Linked DNA regions of Homo sapiens: region 1 is linked to region 2. The links are contacts of gene promoters, found by promoter capture Hi-C in blood cells and fetal thymus (Javierre and others, 2016). All regions are on one chromosome and are shown on one strand. The core of a region is centred on a gene start or on the middle of the fragment in contact, and the rest is flanking DNA. Distances in the headings are between cores, read along the strand shown. Region 1 overlaps SORD (sorbitol dehydrogenase). Region 2 holds the start of TRIM69 (tripartite motif containing 69).

Region 1 (7,102 bases), core at 4,083-6,582, 290 kb after region 2:
TCCAGGCCGCACTCCAGAGCCAAAAGAGCTCCATGGCGGCGGCGGCCAAGCCCAACAACCTTTCCCTGGTGGTGCACGGACCGGGGGACTTGCGCCTGGTAAGCTGGGAAGGAGGGTGGGAAGCATACCGATCCTGCCTCACTCTCCTCTGAGCCCAGCCATAGTCCTGGCTTCCCACTTCCAGCCTGGCGCCGGCCCCGCACCTTAAGCGCCCTGGCTGCCCAGATCCCAGCTGGTTCCCCTCGGGGTGTGGGGGCAGCAGGTAGTGGCTGTTGCGAAGGGCAGGGATCTAGTCGTGTGCCTCCCGGAACCTAGCCCCGTGGCTGGCACGTGGCCGGTGCCCAGGACGGTTGCAAACTGTTTGAATGAAGCTTTCTCTCTCCTTTGCCAGCTGCAGATTCATAGTCCAGCCTCTTGTCATTGACCTTTCCAAAGGAAATGCTAAGGCTGTCTGAATTATCGGGGCAGACCGTGCAGAGCAGAGAAAGGGGGGCCAGAGGACACTTAGAAACAGCAGAACTTGTATTTAACTCCCTTGCTTGGGACTGATAAACCTCCCTTGCAGGATTATGATGATCACAAGAGTACTCAGCACTTAGTACGTGCTCAGGAAGTGCCAGCTCCTTCTCCTTTCCTTCCAGTCTAGGCCTCCATCTCCAGAACCCCTGCTGTTCCCCTTGCCTGTGCCAGACTTGTGGATCTTGATAGCTCCCTTGTCTGTAAGGATCCTTCTCTCCCTAAGACCCTGTCTGGTTCACTTTCCAGCAGTTTTTCTTTCCAATCCCGTGCCTCTGTCCCTTTAGGAGCATTCTGTATGTGTGTCCTCTGCCTTAGACCCTGCCTTTTGCTCCCTGGCTTGTGGCACCAAAGTTTAGGAAGTGGCTGAGTCAGCAGCCTAGTCATGCCAAGCCTCCCTTGACAAAGTCCCTCTCAGATGGGCCTGGGATGGCAGTGGGTATGTGGGATGAGTGCCAGCCATCTCTGCTGCTCCCCTGTACCTCTTTTCCCTCAAAGTACATGCGTCAGTATGTAAACTGCAGTAATTCAGAAGCTTATCCAGGTTAGCAGTTCTTGACTATTTAAGAATCTGTGGTGTCCCCTCCACAGAATGCAAATAGACTGAGTTTGGCAACAATTTCAGACTGCTCAAGGACTCCCTTTAAGCCGCTCTAAGCCCCTCTATAGAACCCTTGTCCCAGCTGACTCTCCATCTCCTCAGTTGAAGAAAGTACCATACCCAAGGTGATAGGTTTTGTTAGTTAACAGAGCCACGACAAGGACTCAGATGTTCAGACTCCCCATTCTAGTGCTCATTCCACTCTTTGGAGCCTCCACCCAAGGTCCTGAATTAAAGTGAGGCTGTTAGTGTTTACTGTTGCAAATGCCAGATGGTATTATGAGTAAGGGAAAGTGGTCCAGCTCTACCCAGCTTGCAGAGTGATTTCCAACTCAGTACTTCATTCCACAAACATTCACTCATGAAAGGGTGCCTGCCATGTGCCAGGCACTGGGCTGAGGGCCCAGAAAGGAGGACACAGCCCCTGCTCCCAAGTTTACTGAGGGAGGCAGACAGATAAAGTCAACAATTATGACAGAGCCCGAGGGCTTTGATGGAGGCCTCAGAGAGAAAAGACGCCACAGGGAGGGGCCCTTGGCCCTCTATCTGCTCAGAGCCTGCTTAAAAGTCATGCACCTAAGGTGCAGAAACACAGTTAAGTTCTCCTTCATCTTACCTCAAACTCATGGTCTTCCACTGCTCAGGCAGACTACCTCTACTATGGTTCCGTAGACAAAGCTTTGAAGATTAGAGCAGCAGCGAACTAACCTTGATCTCATCAGCTTTGCATTAGAACCCACTCTCTGACTGGATTAGGGGCTAGGTTGGGGTGGCTGTAACCTGAAGTATCTAGAAAATATGATGGGCTAGAGAATTTCACCTTTGGTTGTGTGCTGGAACACTAGCTGGGTAAAAGAGTTCAGAGGAGGATTTAGGAAAACACCTAGGCTCAGTTTGAGAATGGGAAGTGGTAGCGTCATTTACTAGTCAGAGTAGATTAAAATGATGAGATCAGGTTTGAAAAGTTGAGTTTAAGATGTCTCTGGAGGCCAGGTGTGGTGGCTGATGCCTGTAATCCCAGCACTTTGAAAGGCCAAGGTAGGCAGATCGCTTGAGGTCTGGAGTTTGAGACCAACCTGGCCAACACGGTGAAACTGTCTCTACTATAAATACAAAAATTAGCTGGGTGTGGTGCCACATGCCTGTAATCCCAGCTACTTGGGAAGCTGAGAATCGCTTGAGTCTGGGAGTCAGAGATTGCAATGAACTGAGATCGTACCACTGCACTCCAGCCTGAATGACAGCAAAACTATGTCAAAAAAAAAAAAAAAAAAAAGATGTCTCTGGGACAGGACACAAGGTGCCTTTGAGAAATTTCCTTGGGTGCAGGGGTCTGGAGTGCAGGGATACTATCAGGGGTGGAAATGTAAACTCAGGAGTCCTTTGCTCCTCTACTGAGCAGTACTGCACTGCCCCGCCACCCAGGAGACATTTGGAAATGTGTCAGGGAGGCTTGGTTGTCACGATGACTGAGGAGCACTACTGCGGACTTTATTCAGTTCATAGTGCTATCTTGCACAACAAAGAGTTGTCCTGTCCCAAATAGTGCCCTATGGGGAATTATGGATGGCTGAGCTTGCCTGGGCTGAGTGAACCATGTAGAGTGAGAAGGAAAGAAGAGGAGGACATTACCCTGGAGAGAGCCCCAACACTGGAGGGGAAAGGGCAGAAAGAGTTGTCAGCAGAGGAGACCCACTGTGCTGCCTCAGGTGCACCTGCAGCTCAACACAGACCTTCTGGGCCCTCGCCACTCCTTCTCAGGCATGGTCTTCCACCAGCACCTCCACAGTGCCCAACCCAGACCCCGAGTGTGGTATCACTGCTCCTCCATCTTTTCCTTAAGACAAATAGGCTCAGTGGCTTGGGTTTGGGGTCAGTAGTAAACCAGAGATAGCAACTAGGAGGAACAATCCTGGGGAAGCTTTGAGGGGAACCACCCATTTTCCTCTCTGCAAGAGGACCAAAATGAAACCCAGAATTTCCTGGGCTTAATAAATTGTCAGCAAATGCATTTTGGGGGGAAAAAAGCCTTGGTTGGATATGAACTACAAAAAAGATAAGAGGAAGTGGGGAGAATTTGACTGTTTTCTTCTTTTGATGTAAGACCACCAGCCACAGATTAAAAACCCTTCCATTTCTGGCTGGCTGGGGAACTGCAGCCCAGCAAACTGTGGCCGATTTAGGTATACAGGGGGGCAGGGTCTACTGATAAAATGGTTCAGTGCCTCAGGAACTCCTATGAAGGGAGTTGTTTGGGGAAACTCTCATTCCTAAGATCTTTTCAAAAAATGTATAAATTTTCAAGGGAAAAGTGTATCATTTAACTTACATCATTATTTGCTTTCCAAAAAGTGTATAAATCATTCCTAAAATCTGAAGCAGGTTTCCAAAGCATTCTGAAGCAGGAAGCAATGTCTCAACCTTTCCCACTGCTGCCATCCTACTTGAGATAAGGCCAGGAACCAGCCAGCGTCTGGGGCAGTGGTTCTGTGGGGGAATGCGACCTTAGTCCACTTTACTTGTCCTTTAACTGGCAGGAAGGAAACCTACCACACAGCCTCCCTACTGCCTAAGGAGACTGCACCATTCTCTTCTTTCTTGATGTATGGCTGCACGGAACAAAAAATTAAACTCCTCACCTACTAATTAGTTAATGATCACCTTGACCACAGCAAGGAGGAGCATTTATAAATTGGGTGGTAAGTCAGACACACACTAAGACCAGTGGTTTTCTTTTATAGTTAGGAGAACAAAACGAAACAACAATCTGAGACTTAAGGATTTTCGCTTTTCCCTTCATTTTGAATAGAGAAAGTTTGAGAGTTGGAGGGAGGAAAAGGGACTGATGACCAAGTTGATGTATAAAGAAGCAAACAGTGTCAGCTTGCTGGGGTTCTCTCTAAATGGAAATAGTACGAAGTTCCCAAACCAGGCTGGGGAGCCAGAGTGGGGTTTAGTCCCCCTTCTACTGCTGCTAGTTGTATGACTCAACAAATTATTTTCCACTTCAACTTCCCCGTGAAATGGGGATAATGGTAGTATTCATCTTTGGTTGTATGAGGATTCAGTGGAACCAATTGTGCGTGTGAAAGGCCTAGCACAGCATTTAGCACACTGTTAATGGTATGTGCTAACTGTGGAGATAAGCAGGAAGCCAGAGCCCCTGAGGACGGACACTTAAACCATATCAGCTTAAAAAGAGGTGGATGGAGACCAGGGCCTTCAAACACATGAACAGTTTTCCTAACCAAATTATTATAATGTGGGCCCAGGCAATAATCTTGCTTTCCACTGTATTTACCAGTTTAATTACTGTATGCCCCTTTGATCAGTCTATTGAGACCCAGAAGCTTTTAATTAGGAAATGAATTATGGATTCATGAAGTTAGAATATAAAATAGTCAAATTAGTTTTTACCCCATAGAAGCTATGTTTGGTGGTGGGGGTGGTGGGAAGCTTGTTTTTACAATGTAGGGTTCACTCGAATGGTAAGGAAATGCGGGGAATTAATATATTGACTGCCTACTGCATTCCAGGCATGTGCTGGGAACTTTAATACAGGGCTTTACAAACTGTCCACAATGAAGGGCCAATTTTACTTTTTCCAGTCGGCCATGGACTGATATGTTTGCATCAATATATTTGAATGCTGTGTCACGTCAAAATGCTATAAACAGCCAGGCACGGTGGCTCATGCCTGTAACCCCAGCACTTTGGGAGGCCAAGGCGGGCAGATCACTTGAGGCCAGGAGTTTGAGACCAGCCTGGCCAACATGGCAAAAATCCTGTCTCTACTAAAAATACAAAAATTAACTGGGTGTGGTGGTGCACAACCTGTAATCCCAGCTACTCAGGAGGCTGAGGCACGAGAATCACTTGAATGGGGAGGCAGAGGTTGCAGTGAGCCAAGATCATGCCACTGCACTGCAGCGTGGGTGACAGAACAAGACTCTATCTCAAAACAAAAACAAACAAAAAAATTATATAAACATTTCTAAATGCTCCTCTCAATTTCTGTACATTGCATTACAAATCAGTTCATCAATCACCCTCTGAGTGCACTTTATCTCCCTTCTTCCTGAAAGCTGGCTCTTCCTTCAGGCAGGAGCATCTGAACAGGGAGAAGTATAGGAACAAAACAGGCTCCATTTCCAGGAAACAACACCATGGAGGGGATGTAGTCAGATTTTTGTTATGATCAGCTATATGAGGAGACAATAAATTAAAGGGAAAAATAATAATTTCAGAATGATGGGTTAATGTTGTTTAATTATAAAGGGCAGAAAAATTAATATATTGGCATCAAGTTTAAACATTACTCGGAGGTCCATGAAGATATTTCTTGAGTTTTTGTCCATTGAGGCAACGTATTATACCTTAGGTCAAAAGAATTGCTTTGACCTAAGCATTTTTAAATACTCTTATTTATTTTTAAAAATAAGATAAATCTATATCTGTAATACAGCACATTCAAAATGTCTATACTTTACTGTTAAGATTTTGGGGTGAGAAGCGGATGGTATAATGAGAGGGCATGAACATGGGCAGCTCAGATGGTCCTGTGCATCATGTCTGTTTCTCTGAGCCAGCTGCTTCTATGTGATCAGATTAAAGGGGCTGATAGTCATGAAGCAGGAGCTGGATTAAACCAGATTACCCTGATAGTGATGAGATGCAGGCTACTTAACCCTTACAAGTCAGAGACACTTGAGAGTGAAAAGAGAATGTGAAAATCCTCCAGAAAAAGAGAAATTGGGTAGCAGTAAGTAGCCCAAAGAACCATCTTTCTTGCTTTTATCTTAATTATGTTTTAACAACAAAACAAAACCCAAACTGGACATACCATTTCAAATTCAAAACAGGAAATTAAATCCAGTAAACACTCCCACCTCCACCAACAGCTCTGGAAAGGCAATGCCTTTGTCTGTGAAAGACCATGAGGCACAAAGGTAGCATTTTCCTCTCAAAGTGATGCAAGCTTTTTCTTGGCCCCTTCGCCAGACCTGTGGAGTACTGGGCCTACCGTGCTCAACCCCTTGTGGGAGGGAGCACATGAATGAGTGAGTGCGGGATCCAGCCAGCTGCTCCAGGCACTGACACAGGAGCAAGCTCCTTGAGGGGAATGCAGCAGCACCCAGGTAAGGGTGTCCATGACCCTGAAGCCCCAGAGGGGCTGTTACAGTGCTCCTTTATTTCCACCGTCTGCAGATGGTGGCATGTTAGCAGCTCAGTTGGCCCCTTGCCTCGCTGCACGGGGCATGCCACTGGTGAGGGGCAAAGGGCCAGTTTGACAGCCTTTTCTGGGTACCTGTACTTGGTGGGCCCTGAGCTCTTGTCCAGTGTCCAAGAAGAATGAGGTCACGCAGATGATTGAAGGATGGTGAAGGTGGAGAATTTTACTGAGCAATGAAAATGGCTTTCAGCAGAGAAGGGAACTGGAGAGGGGATGGGAAGGGCAGGTCATCTTCCCAGAAGTCAGGTTGTCTCCTCCCCGAAGTCAGGTCATTTCCCCCTCTACCAACTGAGTCTGGGATCTTTATAGGCACAGGATAGGAAGTGCGTATTGATGGGTTTGTGAGTATGCAAAAAAGGTTAACGTGAAGACACCATGCAAAGGTGGGCAAAACAGTGTAGAAAACTACTTAGGAAAGGTTAGGTATATGTAAAATAGGTGAAGGGTGGGGATCAATCAGAGGAAAGCGTCCAAACAGGAAGACAAGTTCTTGATCCAGTCCCAGGATTTAACTTGTAGCTTGGCTTTCCGGCTTTAAACTGTCTTCTACTTGGAGGTGGAATTTCACTGGGTACCCACCCCTATCTGCCTAGGCATTTGGCCACCTCCTTTTGCTATCAAAAGCAGGAGAAGAAGCAAGCAATATCACAAATAGGATTTTACCATTCCATAAAAGCAGCCCTATTCTAAGGGGAGACCCTAGAATTATGGATGTAGGGGAAATTTCTCTTTAAAACTGCACAACAGAAATT
Region 2 (6,217 bases), core at 1,729-4,228:
TGTGGTGGTGCACGCCTGTAATCCCAGCTACTTGGGAGACTGAGGAAGGAGAATCATTTGAACCTCAGAGGCAGAGATTGCAGTGAGCTGAGATGGCGCCACTGCACTCCAGTCTGGGTGACAGAGTAAGACTCCGTCGCGAAAAACAAAAAACAAACAATAACAACAACAAAAAGAGTTAAGTCTCCACCTCAAAGTGAACATGGGTTGTATGTTACATGCATGTTTGTTCAATAAGCATGAGTCAGGATGACCTTCATAATTATTCATAGCTCCTCCTGTAACCTGTTGAATATGTATGTTTAGCCAACCTATTCAGCATCAAGTTCCTACCCCTGCTCCTCCTTTGAAGTGCCTGTCTCTGGTCTTTGCCAGAGATTGTACTTCCTGGCCTGTGGGATGGCCACCTTGCAGGCCTTTAACGCTTTATAAGAAATAAAGTCTCCTCTCCAAATTTATGGATGTTGTGAGTTCTGTGTTAACAAAGTAGAGAGAAGGAATTTGGGAGACTGACAACTTTGCAAACCAGAGCCACTATAGAAGTTTGGACTTTTACTTAAGAGAGAAATAAATTTCATTCTTGCTTAAGCAACTTTTATACTGGGTATATTAGTCAGGTTGACATACAAAATTAACCATCACTCTGGGTCTCGTTTACAGCAATGGAATTTTTTTATTTTTTATTTTTATTTTTTGAGACAAGGTCTTACTCTGTCAACCATGCTGGAGTGCAGGGATATGATCATGGCTTACTGCAGCCTCGACCTCCTGGGCGCAAATGATCCTCCCACCTCAGCCTCCTGAGTAGCTGGCACCACAGGCACGTGCCAACATGCCTGGCTAATTTTTAAATTTTTTGTAGGGACAGGGTCTCGCCATCTTGCCCAGGCTGGTCTTGAACTCCTGGGCTCAGGTGATCCTCCCACCTTGGCCCCCCAAAGTGCTGAGATTACAGGCATGAGCCACCATGCCTGGACACTGTTTTTAAATAGTGAAAAAAAGACTTGAAGTACTCTTTGTGAAGATTGAGACTTCTTGCTACATAGGATTTGGAATCACAGGCTTCTAGAGACAGAAGGGGGTCTTAGGAATTCACATTTTAAAGAAGGAGGAACTGACACCCATAGGAGTTAAATGTCTTAGCTAAGGCTATTCAGTGCTCTGGTGGTGAGAGACAAGGCTTCCATCTTCTAGGCCAGTACTCTTACCCCTAGGCTAAAGGTTCAAAAATGTGCAGGCGCTGGCTTTAGTAAAATCAGCTATACTAAGCATTGTCAAATGTTTTAGCCAACAACAAAAACAATCAAGATGAAACAAAATTACTTTTTTGACTAAGTGATCACCAGCATTTCATAGACATTTATCTGACAAAGGTTTTGATCTAACAAATGCCATGTATTGCCAAGGTGAGCAAGATACAGTACTACCTATCCTGTGGTTTGTTCACAACTTAGTGGAGGGGCAGACATGCAATCAAACAATTAGAATACACTCTGTTAAAGCCACGTGTACAAAGATCTAGGGTGCTATAGAAATGTGTAAAACTAGGCCAGGCGTGGTGTTGCTCACACCTGTAATCCTAGCACTTTGTGAGGCTGAGGTGGGAGGACAGCTTGAGCTCAGAAATTTGAGATCAGCCTAGGCAACATAGTGAGACCCTGTCAGAAAGAAAAGAAAAAAGAAAAGAAAAGAAGGAAAGAAAGAGAAAGAGAAAGAAAGGGAGAAAGAAAGAAAGAGAGCAAGAGAGAAAGAAAGAGGAAAAAGAAAGGAAGAAAGAGAAAGAAACAGAGAGAGAAAGAAAGGGAGAAAGAAAACAGAAAGAGAGAGAAAGAAAGAAAGAGAAAGAAAAAAAGAAAGAGGAAAGAAGGAAGGAAGGAAGGAAGGAAGGAAAGAAGGAAGGAAGGAAGGAAGGAAGGAAGGAAGGAAGGAAGGGAGTAAAGCTGTGTTTCTCAACTGGGGAGTGATTCCAACCCCTGCCCCCAGGAGACATTTGGCAATGACTGGAGACATTTTTGTTATGACTGGGTTTGGTGGGGGGGGGGTGGCTACAGGCATCTAGTGTGTAAACGCCAGGGACACTGCTAAATATCCTAAAATTCACAGGACAGCCCCTCTAACGTAAGACTTAGCAGGCCCAAAATATCAATAGGGCTGAGGTTGGTAACCTCTGGTATAGAGCCAGCAAAATATCTTCTACAAGAGACAGGGAAGTGGGTAAAGCTTGGTTTGGGGATGAGGGGGTGGTTAGGGAAGAGTTTAGTAAAGAGATAATGACGGGGGTGTGGGGGAAGGGAAACTCCCATCCGAAGGGACAACATATACAAAGCTGCAGAAGCGTGACATATTTGGGCGATCCCAAACACTGGGGAAAGAGCTGTGGTCATTAAGTCTGGACAGCTAGGCAGGAGCTAGACGTGCAAGAAATCATATTGAGTTAGAGGAACTACTGTAAGAAAAACTGTTTGGCTCTGTGGTGGCTCTTTATAAGTCACTCAGGAGCACAGTGTTGGTACATCTCTCTGCGAGCTAAAACTGCTGAAGAAAGCTGTATGAAATGAAGCTTTTTTCATCCTGCTTTCTTAGGGCCTGGTGTTTCCCAGGCCTGTGTTACTGTCTCAGAGATAAAATCAGGGCTGCTTCATTGGAATATGAGAGGTGAACTAGCTCTCTATTAAAGCCACTCAGCTGGTGTCTTGATGGTGTGATGGGATCATGAACAGGGGTGAGGTGGTTATTTTTCATGAGTTAGGCTTAATATAGGCTGCTGCTGACGTGTATTTCCTCTTTCATAGAGCATCCTTAGTCCAGAAATGGGGAGCTATGAACCTTAAGATTAGACCACTAACTCGAATCTAAATGAGCTGCCCTTGTCTCCTACAAAAGAAAAGTTGGGCAGGTAGGGTATTCTAATGAGGGTTTCTCTTTCTCTTAAGCAAATGATGATCAAAGTTAACTGACAAACTGTCACGGAATCTGCCAGACCTCACTCTGGCCTTGCTGCTTCTCTCCAGCTCCTGAACTTTTCTTTCTTCCATCATGCTCTGAGCCCATTCCTTGAAAACTAAAAGGTCCCTGACTCCCAGTCTGCAGCCATCCTGGGCCTGCTGAGCTCTGATTCAAGTGCCTGCCTCTGCCCCTTGGTGGGCTGAAGCTTCATGGAGGTGAGTGACCCTTTTTTTTTTTAACTTAGCAGGGCTTCTAGGAATAGTGTGGAAAACAGGATCATAGAAGAGGATATGGATTTAGGAGCACAAAAGGAAATTCATGAAGGGAAGTATTTAACTTGTGACAGCTGGTAGCTACTATACTCTCTCCAAGCCTTGGAATAACTGATAATTTATACTAGAGAAGCTGGTAGGAAAGTAATGAAATCCACCAAAACATTTTGAGAAAAAATAAACTATATACTATATACAATTTACTTTCATTATCAATGTAATCATTTTATTTTAGATTTAAAAATTATTATGTATAACTTGGTTTGCTTACAATACCTTCACATTTGATTATTTTATATTTAAGGCAGAGTTGATACTTAGATAGTAAACATTTTTAATTGAATTCTTCCTTTAAGACCTCTTCAGAGCTAAAATAAAGGAAGTTATGTTCTTCTGAACTTAGTGTTTTCCTGATTGTCAAACAAAAGAAAATGGTTATTTACTACATGAAAGCTTGAAAAACTCACTAAGGGTTTTTCAGGGGCCCTTGAATCCTGAGTTATCATCCATTTCCACTAGTTTCCACTTCTTATAAAGTTTAATTTCATTATATTAATCATTAAGATCAGTTTCTAATTTCCTCTATCATAGGACCTTTAGGTTTGCTGCTACTCATCTCTGTGCTTAGCTATTGAAGCAAACAGGGCTATAAGCATTTTGTTTATAATTTCTAGGGCAAAAATAAACACTATTGCCTAAACCTACTATATTCTTATTACTTTAAGGCCAAGTCAGTGAAAATAGACACTTTTCCATAATAGTAAAAAAATTGTTTGTGTGATAGTGAGTTTCCCATTACTTCAGATGTTCAGGCAGAGGTTGGAAAGGAGTGAATTAAATGGCTTAAAATTTCTTTCAACTCTGGGAAGCTCCAAGAAGTCAGAAAGTTCAGAATCTTGCCTTCTTATGTGCAAATGGCTTGACTCGTGAAGCAGGAGTGTGTCTTGCTCTTAGGTTTAAGCTGGCTGTGCTATATAGTTTGTCTCTGTGGATGAACTGTATTTTTCTGCTCTCAAAGTTAATTCTTCATAAAAACTGCCCATCAAAGTTTAAAAATTACTTTGAAGGAATAAAGGTTGAAAAGCAACAAATGAACTCTCCTTAGATATCTTAACTATGATTTCAAAAATTTACAACACAAAACTTCTCAGGAAAAAAAAATCTCTGGTAAAAATTAAGGATTTCTTATGCAAGCTTCCATGGACTTCATAGCTCTTTGCCTTTTCTCTGCTCTTTGAGAATGTGCACAGTGAACTGAAGGAGGAAGATACATACTTTCTTTCTTTCTTTTTTTTTTTTTTTTTTTTTTAGGACAGAGTCTCACTCTCTTGCTCAGGCTGGAGTGCAGTGGCACCATCTCAGCTCACTGCAACCTCCGCTTCCAGGGTTCAAGTGATTCTCATGCCTCAGCATCCCAAATAGCTGGGACTGCAGGGACGCACCACCACGCCTGGCTAATTTTTGTATTATTATTTTTTTTTTTAGTAGAGATGAGGTCTCACCATGTTACCCAGGCTTGTCTCCAACTCCTGACCTCAGGTGATCCTCCTGCCTCAGCCTCCCAAAGTGAGGCTAAGATTACAGGCCTGGGCCATCGTGACCTGCTGATGTGCTTTCTTATAAAGTGATTCCTGCCAGCCAGGGCTTTATAAGGATGAATATCAATTCCTGACTCGAGTTTCTCTCTCTCTGCCTTAAGGTTAGACTTCTTCCCCTAAAAGGGGCTGGCAGTAGATGTGTTTCCTAAAAGATTTCCAGGTCCAGAAATTTTAGACTCTCATTTGGTTTCCAATTCTATAGCTCCCTCTAGAGCAGTAGGAAGTTATTGCAGATATTTTGCTTCACAAATTTGATCCATTTAATAAATTCAATTCCACAAAACATATTGATGGGCTCTCTGCTGACTCAGTGGTTAATAGGCTTTGGGGTCAAATAAAGAGTTCAAATCTGAGACCCACTACTTAATAATTGTGACTCTGGGAAGATACTTGAAGCAATCTGAGCTTCAGTTTCCTTAAAATATGTAGTAATAATACGTATTTCATAGGGTTGTTCTGAGATTAAATGAAATAATGTATGTAAATCCTCTTCCACAGTGAATGCTCAGTAAATATTAGCTAATATAATTAATCCCTTGTTTTACAGAAAAGGATATATTATTGAAAGTCAGGGGAATTGGCAAACCCTCAGCTAGCAAGATGAATTAACCATATAAAACCAGTCAATCATATAATATCAATAATTAATAACATTAAATATATTTTCATATCATATAACTCACCCTTTTGAAGTTTACAATTCAGTGATTTATAGCATATTCACAAAGTTGTACAATTATCACCACTATCTAATTCCAGAACATTTTCATTATCCCCAAAAGAAATTCCATACCCATTATCAGTCACTTCCCGTTCCTCTTTGCCCTGCCTTGGTAACCGCTATATATTTTAAACATACTTTAAAAACACACGGAGGGGGCAGCCAAGATGGCTGAATAGGAACAGCTCTGGTCTACAGCTCCCAGCGTGAGCGATGCAGAAGACGGGTGATTTCTGCATTTCCATCTGAGGTACCAGTTTCATCTCACTAGGGAGTGCCAGACAGTGGGCGCAGGACAGTGGGTGCAGCGCACCGTGCGTGAGCCGAAGCAGGGCGAGGCATTGCCTCACTCGGGAAGCGCAAGGGGTCAGGGAGGTCCCTTTCCTAGTCAAAGAAAGGGGTGACAGACGGCACCTGGAAAATTGGGTCACTCCCACCCTAATACTGTGCTTTTCCGACGGGCTTAAAGAACGGTGCACCAGGAGATTATATCCTGCACCTGGCTCGGAGGGCCCTACGCCCATGGAGTCTCGCTGATTGCTAGCACAGCAGTCTGAGATCAAACTGCAAGGCGGCAGCGAGGCTGTGGGAGGGGCGCCCACCATTGCCCAGGCTTGCTTAGGTAAACAAAGCAGCCGGGAAGCTCGAACTGGGTGGAGCCCACCACAGCTCAAGGAGGC

What was found. Contacts are between HindIII fragments. The CHiCAGO score rates a contact against its expected background, and 5 or more counts as called.
Region 1: a contact is called between a fragment that was not itself captured here and the fragment with the promoter of TRIM69 in region 2, in 1 of 17 cell types (fetal thymus). The highest score is 5.2, in fetal thymus.

What each region holds. Positions count from the first base shown.
Region 1 is chr15:45,023,252-45,030,353 of GRCh38, forward strand. SORD (sorbitol dehydrogenase) reads left to right here. Exons shown (of 9, transcript NM_003104.6): 1 at 1-98. The coding sequence starts at 33. Among named protein-coding and RNA genes, the nearest start is that of SORD, 3.6 kb to the left of the region's middle. RefSeq lists an enhancer at 663-1,313 and a silencer at 2,457-2,745. The HindIII fragment of the contact is 1,522 bases long and covers 4,572-6,093 here.
Region 2 is chr15:44,733,550-44,739,766 of GRCh38, forward strand. TRIM69 (tripartite motif containing 69) reads left to right here and starts at 2,979. Exons shown (of 7, transcript NM_182985.5): 1 at 2,979-3,161. The coding sequence starts at 3,156. The HindIII fragment of the contact is 591 bases long and covers 2,559-3,149 here.